Linked DNA regions of Homo sapiens: region 1 is linked to region 2. Evidence: promoter capture Hi-C in 16 types of primary human blood cells and fetal thymus (Javierre and others, 2016). All regions are on one chromosome and are shown on one strand. The core of a region is centred on a gene start or on the middle of the fragment in contact, and the rest is flanking DNA. Distances in the headings are between cores, read along the strand shown.

Evidence for each region. Contacts are between HindIII fragments. The CHiCAGO score rates a contact against its expected background, and 5 or more counts as called.
Region 1: a fragment that was not itself captured here is called in contact with the fragment with the promoter of OR8A1 in region 2 in 1 of 17 cell types (total B cells); the score reaches 5.3 in total B cells.

The regions. Positions count from the first base shown.
Region 1 is chr11:124,073,879-124,079,404 of GRCh38, reverse strand. No RefSeq gene overlaps it. Among named protein-coding and RNA genes, the nearest start is that of OR10G7, 35 kb to the right of the region's middle. The HindIII fragment of the contact is 5,423 bases long and covers 1-4,532 here.
Region 2 is chr11:124,565,872-124,571,470 of GRCh38, reverse strand. OR8A1 (olfactory receptor family 8 subfamily A member 1) reads right to left here and starts at 1,474. Exons shown (of 1, transcript NM_001005194.2): 1 at 97-1,474. The coding sequence starts at 1,351. The coding sequence ends at 422. The HindIII fragment of the contact is 5,869 bases long and covers 1-2,859 here.

The DNA.
Region 1 (5,526 bases), core at 572-3,071, 490 kb after region 2:
AATTACAGTGAAAATGGAATAAATACTAACTACAACTGAAAACAAGAAAAAAATGATTCTCTATTGTGATTTTTTTTTTTTTTGAGACTGAATCTGGCTCTGTCACCCAGGCTGGAGTGCAGTGGAACGATCTCTGCTCACTGAAACCTCCCCCTCCCGGGTTCAAGTGATTCTCCTGCCTAAGCCTCCCGAGTAGCTGGGACTACAGATGCCCGCCACCACGCCTGGGTAATTTTTTTATTTTTAGTGGAGTAGGGGTTTCACCATGTTGGCCAGGCTGCTCTTGAACTCCTGACCTCAGGTGATCCACCCACCTTGGCCTCCCAAAGTGCTGGGATTACAGGCGTGAGCCACTGCACCCGGCCTGTAATATCTTATATATAAAAAATATATAAGTTTTCATTCATGGTTCCTGGCTTATAACTCCCATAGCTCCAGCTGTGGTCTTTTGTTATAATGTTGGGGCAGTTAGGCCTCAGAAAACAGAATCTCTCTGGCCTTTTCCTGCTCTCTTCTCACCAGCCCAAGCGGGACTCTGATCTTCCCCTGCCTTTCTGATCTGGGGTCATAAAACTGTCATTCCAGAGAGGGTCTGGTCCTGTACCCAGGAGGATGGAACGCTGCACAGAGAGGCCAAAAGGAATCTGAACAGGCAGGCCTTGCTAGGTTTCCCCACTCAGTCTATTAGTGTTAGATCATACCCTTGTGTTCCAATCATATTTCTACATGGTTGCCCATGCTTTGATCTTGCCTAACCAATGAAGCTCTATAAAAGGCCCCAGAAAACAGGGTTCAGAGAGCTTCTGGATAGCTGAGCACATGGAGGTTCCTGGAAGGTACTGTACCTGGGAAGGGCAGGGAAGATCCTCACCCCTTCCCTGATATCTCACCCTCCACATCTCTTCATCTGTATCCCTTGTAGAATCCTTTAAAATAAACTGGTAAGTATAAAAAGTGTTTTCCTGAGTTCTATGAGCCACTAGCAAAATAATCGAGCCCAAAAAGGGGGGTTGCAGGAACCCCAACCCTACGCCAGCATTTCCAGAGGCCCTGACTTGTGACTGGAGCCTAACTGGGGCGGGGGGTGGGGGGGTTTGGGAGGGCAGTCTTTCTTGGGGACTGAGCCCTCAACCTGTGGGATCTGATGCTACCTCTAGGCTGACAGTGTCAGAATTGAACTGGAGGACACCCAACTAGTGTCTGCAGCAGAATTGATTGGTCACTTGGTGTGTGGGGAACCCTCTCCCCACAACAGAAGTCCCCCATGTGGATTATTGCTATTGAGTGAGACAGTAGGAAATAGGCACATTGAGTGTTGTTTATGCCACTCTCAAACTATGAAAAAAACCCAGAAGATCCTGAATCAGGGCACCAACACCACCCATCTGAGACTGAAGACCAAAGCTGCTCCAGCAAGGATGGAGCCAGAAATCCACTAGCCAAGCAGGCTGTGAGGCCGGTGCCACACCTCACCAGGGTCAGGGGTTGTGCTAGAGAATAATCCAGGAGGGACTCGCAAATGAGAACTGTGCAGAAGTTATGATCAAAAGATGTATGGAAACTAACACTCTTAAAACACACACAACAAACTCTAAAATCAGAACAATTTACAGCTTAAGAGATAGAAATACTCTGGGAGGCCAAGGCAGGTGGATTGGCTGAGCCAGAAGTTTGAGACCAGACTGTGCAACATGGCAAAACCCCCATCTACAAAAAATACAAAAATTAGCTGTGTGGTGGAGATGCCTGTAGTCCCAGCCACTGGGGAGACTGAGGTGAGAGAATGACCCGATCCCAGGGAGGTTGAAGCTGCAGTGAGCTGTGCCACTGTGCAGCCTGGGCAACAGAGTGAGATCCTGTCTCAAAAAAAGAAGGAAAGAAGGAAAGAAGGAGAGAGAGAGAGAAAGGAAAAGAAAGAAAAGAAAAAGAGAAAGAGAAAAAGAAAGAAGGAAAGAAAGAAGGAGAGAAAGAAAGAGAGAAAAAGAAAGAAGATGGACTACCACATCTCAAAGAATTTAAAATATAAGTGTTAAGGAGACCATAAAAGGAAAAATATTATTTTGAAACAAAAATAGAAAATGCTGAAACAAGGCAAGCAAAAGTTATGACAAGATGCCCATAGAAATCTTATAAAATTAATACATTATAGCAAAAATTTTAACATGATAACTGAATATCAGACTAACGAAAATAAATTACTAAACCAGATTTAGTTCTGAGAATCACCCAGAAGTAACATACAAAGATTTTCTTTTAAATAAAGAAAATTAAAAATTGATAATTTGCAACAGTTTCTCTAGGTATCATATCCCGGTTTTATGAAATTCTAGAGGTAGGTGTGCTATTGTTTCTCCATCCTCCAATTCCTATTTTATATCACCCCTTGGAAATCTTTCTTTTTGTTCTCTAATTTTTATTTTTTGACGTATTTTGGGAGCTCATAGAGCTCCCCTCTCTTTCAACAAGCTCCATCTAGTAGGCCCAGTAGATTCCAATCACATTAGGTGAGAATTATCAGAAGATTTATTCAAGAGGATTATTTTTTTCTCTTCAAAACTGTCAGAGGTGTTGGAACCAGAGAGACTCCCTCTTGAACAGGGGCTGGGTAAAATGAGGAAGCTGCTGGGATGCCTTCCCAAGAGGCTAGGCATTCTAAGTCACAGGATGTTTATAGTGAAGGGAACAGGTTAACAAGGTTTACCAAACAGACCCAGGAAACAACAGACCCAGGAAATGTCCCGATGTCCCAATATATTAGGAACAAAAGCATTTTTAGTTTAAGAAGAAGTTTCCCTTTAAAGATAATAATAGAGATTTTTGTGGCAGACAGTAGTTACACGACGGTTAGTCCCTTGCCGTGATGGCCGCTTGCGGGTGGTCCGGAGCAGCCGCTGTCGTCACGCTGGCTGCAGCAAGGAGGCGTGGGTGGTGGCGGCACGAGCTGCTGCGGGAGCGGCAGTGGCGGTGGTGGGTCCCCTATGTCCTGTGTCCCCAAGGCGGCTGACTGTGCCACCCCTATCCTTCCGCAGCCGGCAGAACCCGCTCCCAGGCACGGAGCCTCCATTGCTCTGGACCCTGGTCCCATCGCCGCTCTCATCTGCAGCAACTGCTGGGAGGGTGCAGGGAGGAGGTGGAGCTGGGCCTGAGGCAGTGCCATCCTCCACGGAGCCGCTGGGAGCCAGGGACAAGGACAAGAAGGAGCACCCTCTCCCCAGGCCCCCAAAGCCCACCACCCTGAGGGCCACCGCAATGGGGCTGGGCCAAGCTACCCTCCAGCACAATCCGGCACTGAGGGGCAGGCAGAGCATCCGGACCCCCTACCCCAGGCTGTGAGGAGGCGTGGCCAGGGCTGTCTGCAAGCTCCAGGAGGCCAGGGGAGCCCCACCCTCCCAGGCACGGGACTCTGGCATTTCTGCTCTCTGTACCCTCGAGGACCCGGAAGGCCCTCCCGCGAAGGCTCAGGGTTGTCTGCTCCCACTGCCTAGCCGCTCGCCACTCCTGGCACCCACTCCAATCTCAGAGCAGGGTTGGGGCTGAATGAACCCTGGAGCTGTCACAGGCCGGCTGGGTGTAGCCGGGTGTGTGCACGCTGTGGGCAGCACTGATACACCAGCCCCCTGCTGCCTCGGCCCCCTCCAGACTTTGAGCATCCAGGAGCACAAAGGCTGGGTACGGGGGAAGCTGAGTGGTGGGGGGCTGAGGGCAGCTAGGTGCTGGCCTGCAGGTGCCCCTGGGGGCTAGCAGCCTGGGCGGCATGGACAGTGTCAGGAGGCAGACAGACTCCTGGGTGGAAGGGGTCAGGTCCCCCAGGGAGGGTCCGAAGGCTAGGGGCCAGGCTGCTGGTGGAGTGGGGTCTTGTGGTGCCTTTTCCAGACCTGCCCATGGCCACCCATGGACCAACTGGCACACACTTCCTCTCCTCTGAGGTCCATAAAAGCCCTGGGATCAGCTACAGCAGGGTAGATCAGAGGATGGAGAGGTGACAGGATGATCAGCAGCAGAGAGGAGTTACACTCTCTGCTGAGAGCTGCAGAGGCAATGGGATGACCTGCTGCAGAGAGGAGCCACCACTCTAGGGCCTCTTCTCTGCTTAGAGCTGCAGACAATGGGAGGACCCGCAGCAGAGAGGAGCTACCCTCAACACTTGTTGAGATGACCTCTAGCAGAGAGGAACTACCCGCTCCCTAGGAGCTGAACACTTGTCAGGACACTCCGGCTGCAGAAAGAAGCTCCCCACTGCAGGTCCCCTCTGAGCTGTTCTATAGCTCAATAAAGCTCTTCTTCCTCTTACTCACCCTCCACTTGTCTGCATAACTCACTTTTCCTAGTCACAGGACAAGAACTCGTGACCCAACGAATGGCAAAGCTAAAAGAGCTGTAACACAAACAGGGCTGAGACATGCCCCTTGCTTGCTCCCTACATTGCAGGTGAAGAGAAGGAAAGAAGAGCTGTGGCCCTTTGGGGATCCCAGACCTGGGAGCTCCCCCACAGGGCTGTGACTCCCTCTTTGGGGCCCTGCAATCTCCAAGCTTCCAGGCACCACCATGGTCCCCAGTGCCAGCTGTGGAAGCTGCTTGCAGTGCACCTGGTCTGGCCACAGCCTTGCAAAGAACCAGCACCCATGCCGGCACTTGGAGCTGCCCACCCCACTGCAGCAACCAGCCTGTCTGACTGTGTGCAGTGGCCAGACCTCACACTTGCTCACATACCCTTCACCGCTCCCACCTTACTCGCCCTTGGGAGACATGGGATCAAGGCCAGTAGCGTCAGCCAAGCACAGCCTGCAAGGCCAAGTAGGCAGAATGAGCCCAGTGGGCCCCACCAAATCTCAAGCAAAGGCGCCACTGGTCACAGATGTTTCCGGTCAGAAAAGTGACACCCCAAAGATCCCCTAACAGTAGACCTTCCCCACAATTGTTTTGCTTTGTTTCTTATATATAAACAAGCATTGTACCTAAGGTGGACGTAATTCTTCCTTTTGCTTTTGGGAATGTCCTGCTCTGCCTATGGAGTGGCCATTCTTTCATTCCTTTACTTTCCTAATAAACTTGCTTTTGCTTTACTCTGTGTATTTGTCCTGAATTGTTTTTTGCACAAGATTCAAGAACCCTCTCTTGGGGTCTGGATTGTGACCCTTTTCTGATAAAACAATTTAATGTTTTATATTGAAATGTGCTAATGTTGAATTTGTAAAGATACTATCAATAAAGAAAAATACAAACAATAATTGTTTTTAATCTACTGAAATCTATCGAGCAATAACCACTCAACAATTTGGTGATCATCTTTCCACCAAAGACACACGCATATGCTACACACACAAATTTACACAAGTAAATAACATTATAGCTATGATACTATACTCTAATTTTCCTATTCCCTAAAGCTTTTTCTCACATCAGTAACAGATAGCTGCCTCAACTTGAATGACTATAAAAATTCATTTTATGAATAAGTCAAATTATTCTTAACCCATTAATAGAAATATTTTTCTTTAAGAGTTTACATTAATGAACAATCACTTT
Region 2 (5,599 bases), core at 225-2,724:
AAAAAAATTGGGCTGAGTAATATTTTCTATATAGAAGATAATAAGACCATGAATGACCCTAAAACTCAATGTTGAAAGTTTAGCATTTAAGTTAAATTACAATTAAGATAGGAAACATTTATTAAAGGGCTTGGGGTAGAGGGATGGATCTCAAGTGAAAGAAAACCTGAACCTGAAGTTGGCTGGCTTCAAAGAGAAGTGAAAAAAGAGGGAGGGAAGGAAGAGGAAAGAAGAGGAAGGAAGGAAGAGGAAGGAAGAGGAAAGGAAGAGGGAAGGAAGAGGAAAGAAGGAAAAATGCCCATTCACCCAGCCATGTGGAGAAGTGATTATTTTCCATCCACAGCTGGCCAGCATTCAGAAGCTGTCACTCTGGTATTTATAACAATTACCACTAAATTGAAAAGGAACAATAACATTTGCATCAAAACAGTTTACCCCTCAGCGTTTTCTGCACGGCAGCCTTTACTTCCTTGTTCCTCAGGCTGTAGATTAGGGGATTCAACATGGGGATTACCGTGGTGTAGAACACAGAGGCCACATTCTCCTGGGTCAAGGAACTGATTGTGGAGGGTTTTAAGTACATGAATGCAGTTGATCCATAGAACATTCCCACGGCTGCAAGGTGGGAGCTGCAGGTGCTGAAGGCTTTGGATCTCCCCTCTGTGGTGCTGATGCCGAGGATGCTGGAGAGAATGAAGGTGTAAGAAACAAGAACTGTTAAGCTCGTGACTATGATGTTGAATCCAGCCGAAAAGAAGACTGTCATCTCAACATCATAGGTGCTAGAGCAGGACAGCTTCATGAGAGGGAGGATGTCACAGAAGTAGTGACTGATGAGGTGCTCACAATAGGGCAGTTTTAACATGAGGCCAGTTTCTATTGTGGAGCCAATGAGTCCGATGGCGTAGACCACAGCCACCAGCAGCAGGCAGGTGTGATGAGACATAATGATGTTGTAAAGCAAAGGGTGGCAGATGGCAACATAGCGGTCGTAGGCCATCACTGTCAGCATGTAACACTCAGCAATGACAAAAACAAGGAAGAAGTAGAGCTGTGACATGCACCCTGCGTAGGAGATGATGTTTTTCTCTGACACAAAGTTCACCAGCATCTTAGGGGTAATGACGGAGGAGTAGCAGAGATCCATGAGTGACAGATTGCTGAGAAAGTAGTACATGGGGGTGTGCAGCTGAGAGTTCAGACAAATTAGAGTGATCATGCCCAGGTTCCCCACGATGGTGACCAAGTAGATCCCGAGGAAGAGGAGAAAGAGGGGGAGCTGGAGGTCTGCTCTCTTCGTTAAACCCTTGAGAATGAACTCTGTCACTGTAGAGTGATTTCCTGCAGCCATTCTCCTCTGGGTGGGAGGCCTGCAGGGATGCATGGGAGACAAGAACCCCATTAAAAGGCTAATCTTGGACGGCTAGTCTTGAGCCTTTGGTGCTAGTGAAACATCCTGGGCTCTCTGCTGATGCATCCTCCCCGCCCTCCTCCCCTCGTCCTGCTATTTGCTGGTCTTCTTTGCAGGAAGACCAGCGTGAGTGTTTCAGGGATCATGAAGATGGGAGGAAAGCAGGCCAAGGTCTGGATCTTTTACCATGCACATTTTTCTAAAGCATCCTGGGGCAGTGTTTCTCAAAGGGTAGTCCCTGGACCAGCAGCACTGACATTACCTGGAGTTTTTTAGAGATGCAAATTCTCAGGCCTCAGCTCACACCTAATTAATCAGAAACTCTGGATATGGGGCCCAGCAATCTATGTATTAACAATCTTTCTGGTGATGGTGTTGCATAGTAAAGTTTGAGAATCTCTACATTGTAGATAAGTAGTATATTTCATATTTTGTAGTTGGGGATGGATTTTGCTTTAGAAATAAACTTCCTTTGTCATGTATATAATTCCTAAATATTCACTGAATGTGAACATGTAAATACCTATCTGAAATTTACGCAGTGTCAGGGTGATAGGGTAGTTACAAGCTGTGTCATTGGCTGACACATCAATTTCTATGTCTGAAAGATGAAGAAATTAATATTGATTCCAAAGGTGGTTGTAAAAATAACACAGGATAATGCATATTTAGAAATCTTTTTTCAAATACTCAGTGCCTATAAAAAATGTGAATTGTCATTAAGAGTCTGGAATTTGTTCTTAATTTCTTACTTGACCTGAGGTCCTAAGGCAGTGGTTCTCAGCATTGGCTATACATTATAATCACACGGGGCATTTACAAAGGATTGATACCTGGGTTCTACCCGTAGATGTTCTGATTTAATTGATCTGTGGTGCAACATGAGCACTGGCCCATTGAATGTTCCATACTAAGTGCTAAATAGCTAATTATTATTATTATTATTTTCAGATCATAATATCAAACCTTTGTCCTATTACATCCCTGATGACAAAGTATTCAAATTACAGGCATATCTCCAGGAAGCATGAATAATCATTGCTGGATACAATATGTATAGACAGTCTTATCTGTGGGATGTATTTCTTAAGCTATAAAACATATTACCCCTATTTTAATTGCTTCCTTATGTAATTACTAACTTTTGCATAATGCTTTACAGCTTACACATTTCTTTCAAAGGTCGATCTCATTAACTTCTGAAGTTTTCGGAAATGGGGAGAAATGTGTTTAGGGAAGGATTTTTATTTTCATGTTTGTATTGAGAAAACTGAGGTGCCAGACACTAAGTGATTTGCCCAAGGTTTACTAATTATTGGTGACTTGGAACTCAAACTTACCTCGGCTCTGTCCTGATCATGAGTTTCCTCTTTTGCCTCACATGTGCAGCCTTGTAAATCTGCACACTCACAGCTCTTAGCAATGTATGATTAAAATAGGTTTAAGCTTGATATCTTAGTATATGCATAGCATAGGAAAAATGCTGTATTTTGTTTCGTTGTCTAGGAAATTGAAGCTCTAAAAGTTAAATAAGTCACCCAAGGAAACCCAGCTAGTAAGAGGCAAAACTGGGCCTAAAACCCAGGACTTCTGACCACCAGTGTGTTTTGTCTCCACTAAACTAAATTGTTTTGTTTTAGCGTATCTTTGTGTAGCACTTTATTATTATTTAATAACATTTAATTTATATAATTTTTGAAGATAGAGGAAAGATCTATTGCTAATTTTGGATGCATTTAAAAAAATTATAAAGGCAATATATAGGCATTGTAGTGAATTAGAAATGCAAATAAGCAAAAATTTAAAACAACCATTTTCCACCACTTGGAACCAAACGGTGGTAGTGAATATCCTTCTAGACTTTTCCTATGCATATATGTATTTACATGTATATAAATATATATGTATTTTTACAAAAACATTTGTAATCTGCTTTTTAAACATAGCATTCACAAATGTATTGTCTCATTTGATTCCTATAACTGGCACTAACTGTATTCTTTTTTCTTAGAAGTAAGAGTCTTTAAAATCATTAGGACGTGGTGTGAAGACAAAGTCTGAATTGCATTGTAAGCTTTTATATCAAATTATTGGTAATGAGGCATTTAACTTTACAATAACTAGTATGAGAGGTAGCTAAGATTTTTAAAATTCACGTTAAGCATTCCCAATCTGAAAACTCAAAGTCCAAAATCTGAAACTTGTTGAGGGCCAACATGAACCACAAGTGGAAAATTCCACACCTCCTCTCATGTGACTAGTCTCAGTGAAAATACAGTCAAAACTGTTTCATGCACAAAATTATTAAAAATATGGTATAAAATTACCTTCAGCCTATGTGTATAAGATGTATATGAAGCATATATAAATTTCATGTTTAGACTTGGATCTCATCCTCAAGATATCTCATTATGTATATACAAACATTCTAAAACCGGAAAAAAATTCGAAATTCAAGACATTTCTAGTCCCAAGCATTGTGCATAAGGAGTTATTCCCATTTATTACAATGGAAATAGAAATGTATTATTTTCATTTATCACAAAGAAGAATTTTTTTCTAAATAACAACAGTAGATTTAAAAAGTTTTACATATCCTTTTTTACCCAATGTCTGCCTCTTAAAATGAAAGGAAACACCCAACTTGAATAACTATAACTGTAGATCGTGTGCTTTACAAAGCAGTGTGGAATGAACACTGTTCACTGAGTGCACAGCAGGTGGGAACACCATTGTGTAGGAGAACGCTAGACAGCACTGATTTAACGTTTCACTCTCATAGTCTTCTAATAACATGAAAGAGGCAAATATAAACCACGTATTTCTTTTACTTTCCTGTTTTTCCTCTTTTTTAAAGACAGAGTCTCATTCTGTTGCTTAGGTTTGAATGCAGTGGTACGATCATGGCTCACTGTAACCTTGAACTCCCAAGCTCAAGCAAGCATCTCACCTCAGCCTCATGAGTAGCTGGGACTACAGGTGTATGCTACCATGCTGGGCTACTTTTTAAAATTTTGGCTACAGATGGGATCTCTCTGTGTTGCCCAGGCTGGTCTCCAACTCCTGGCCTCAAGCAATTCTCCTCTCTTGGTCCTCTAAAGCTCTAAGACTACAGGTGTGAGCCACTGTGCCTGGCCAAACCATATATTTTATATTAGTTACTACAATTATTACCTTTAGTTTCACTAAGCCATAAGAGCCTTAGGATAACTGCCAATGAGAACACAGCACACAGATTAAAAAAGCACATAGTGGTGAAAGTAAATATATGGTTGTAAATAGTCTGCATCACAAACAAGAGTTCATGGAAGAAATATTTTTCTCAGGCAATTGCTTTAAGTTTGTAATTAAATACCTGTGATGAGGAAAAATAAAGCACAGTCTGCTGGAAACTTTAAGGGCTGCCTTGGTTTCAACAATCAGAAAATGCAGGAACCATACTGATTTATACTGAGTCCTACATTTACTCAAATTCATTAAAAAATGGATCACTAAGACTGGGGGCTTGGGATTGTGTTTACGAATATGTGGGCACAATATTTCCTGGGCTATAATCACTTGAGAGGCTGGGGTTCTCACTAACAGAGCAATTAGAGCCTTGCTTTACACTGGCTCTGAGAAACATGCTTTGTCTCCCAGGTGTGTTAATTTTCCTGTTATTGGTAGAGTGATCTTGCAGCTAGGGAAACTTACAGTCTAATGCCAGCTTTGGAATATTTTACTATCAACAGTCCCATTACTATTGTCACAATCGTCATGATTATGATCATTATGTCCATCATCACCACAACCACCTCACTCATTGCCATCAACACCATCATCAGTTACTACCACTATGGTTGTTACTTATTATTCATGATTATGCACAATTGACTAGCTTTAAAATGTTTATTATAATGTGTTTTAAAAACAAATTCAATTTTTTAAAAAACAAGCTGTATACTTTTAGTAAAGGAATGTTACGTTCCTTACATTTATAAGGGAATGCTGAATTTGGCACCCTGCTGCTGCACCAAGTAAACTGACAGTATAGAATGACAGGAGGTTCAGGAGCATGTGAAGGTGGACTAAAAGAACTCTTCATTCATACAGGCTCATTCATAAGAGAAGTGTGTTCATAAGGAAATTTCCTATTCAAGAACATATTCAGTATTTTGTTATCCATGAATATATTGCAATGAAGATTTT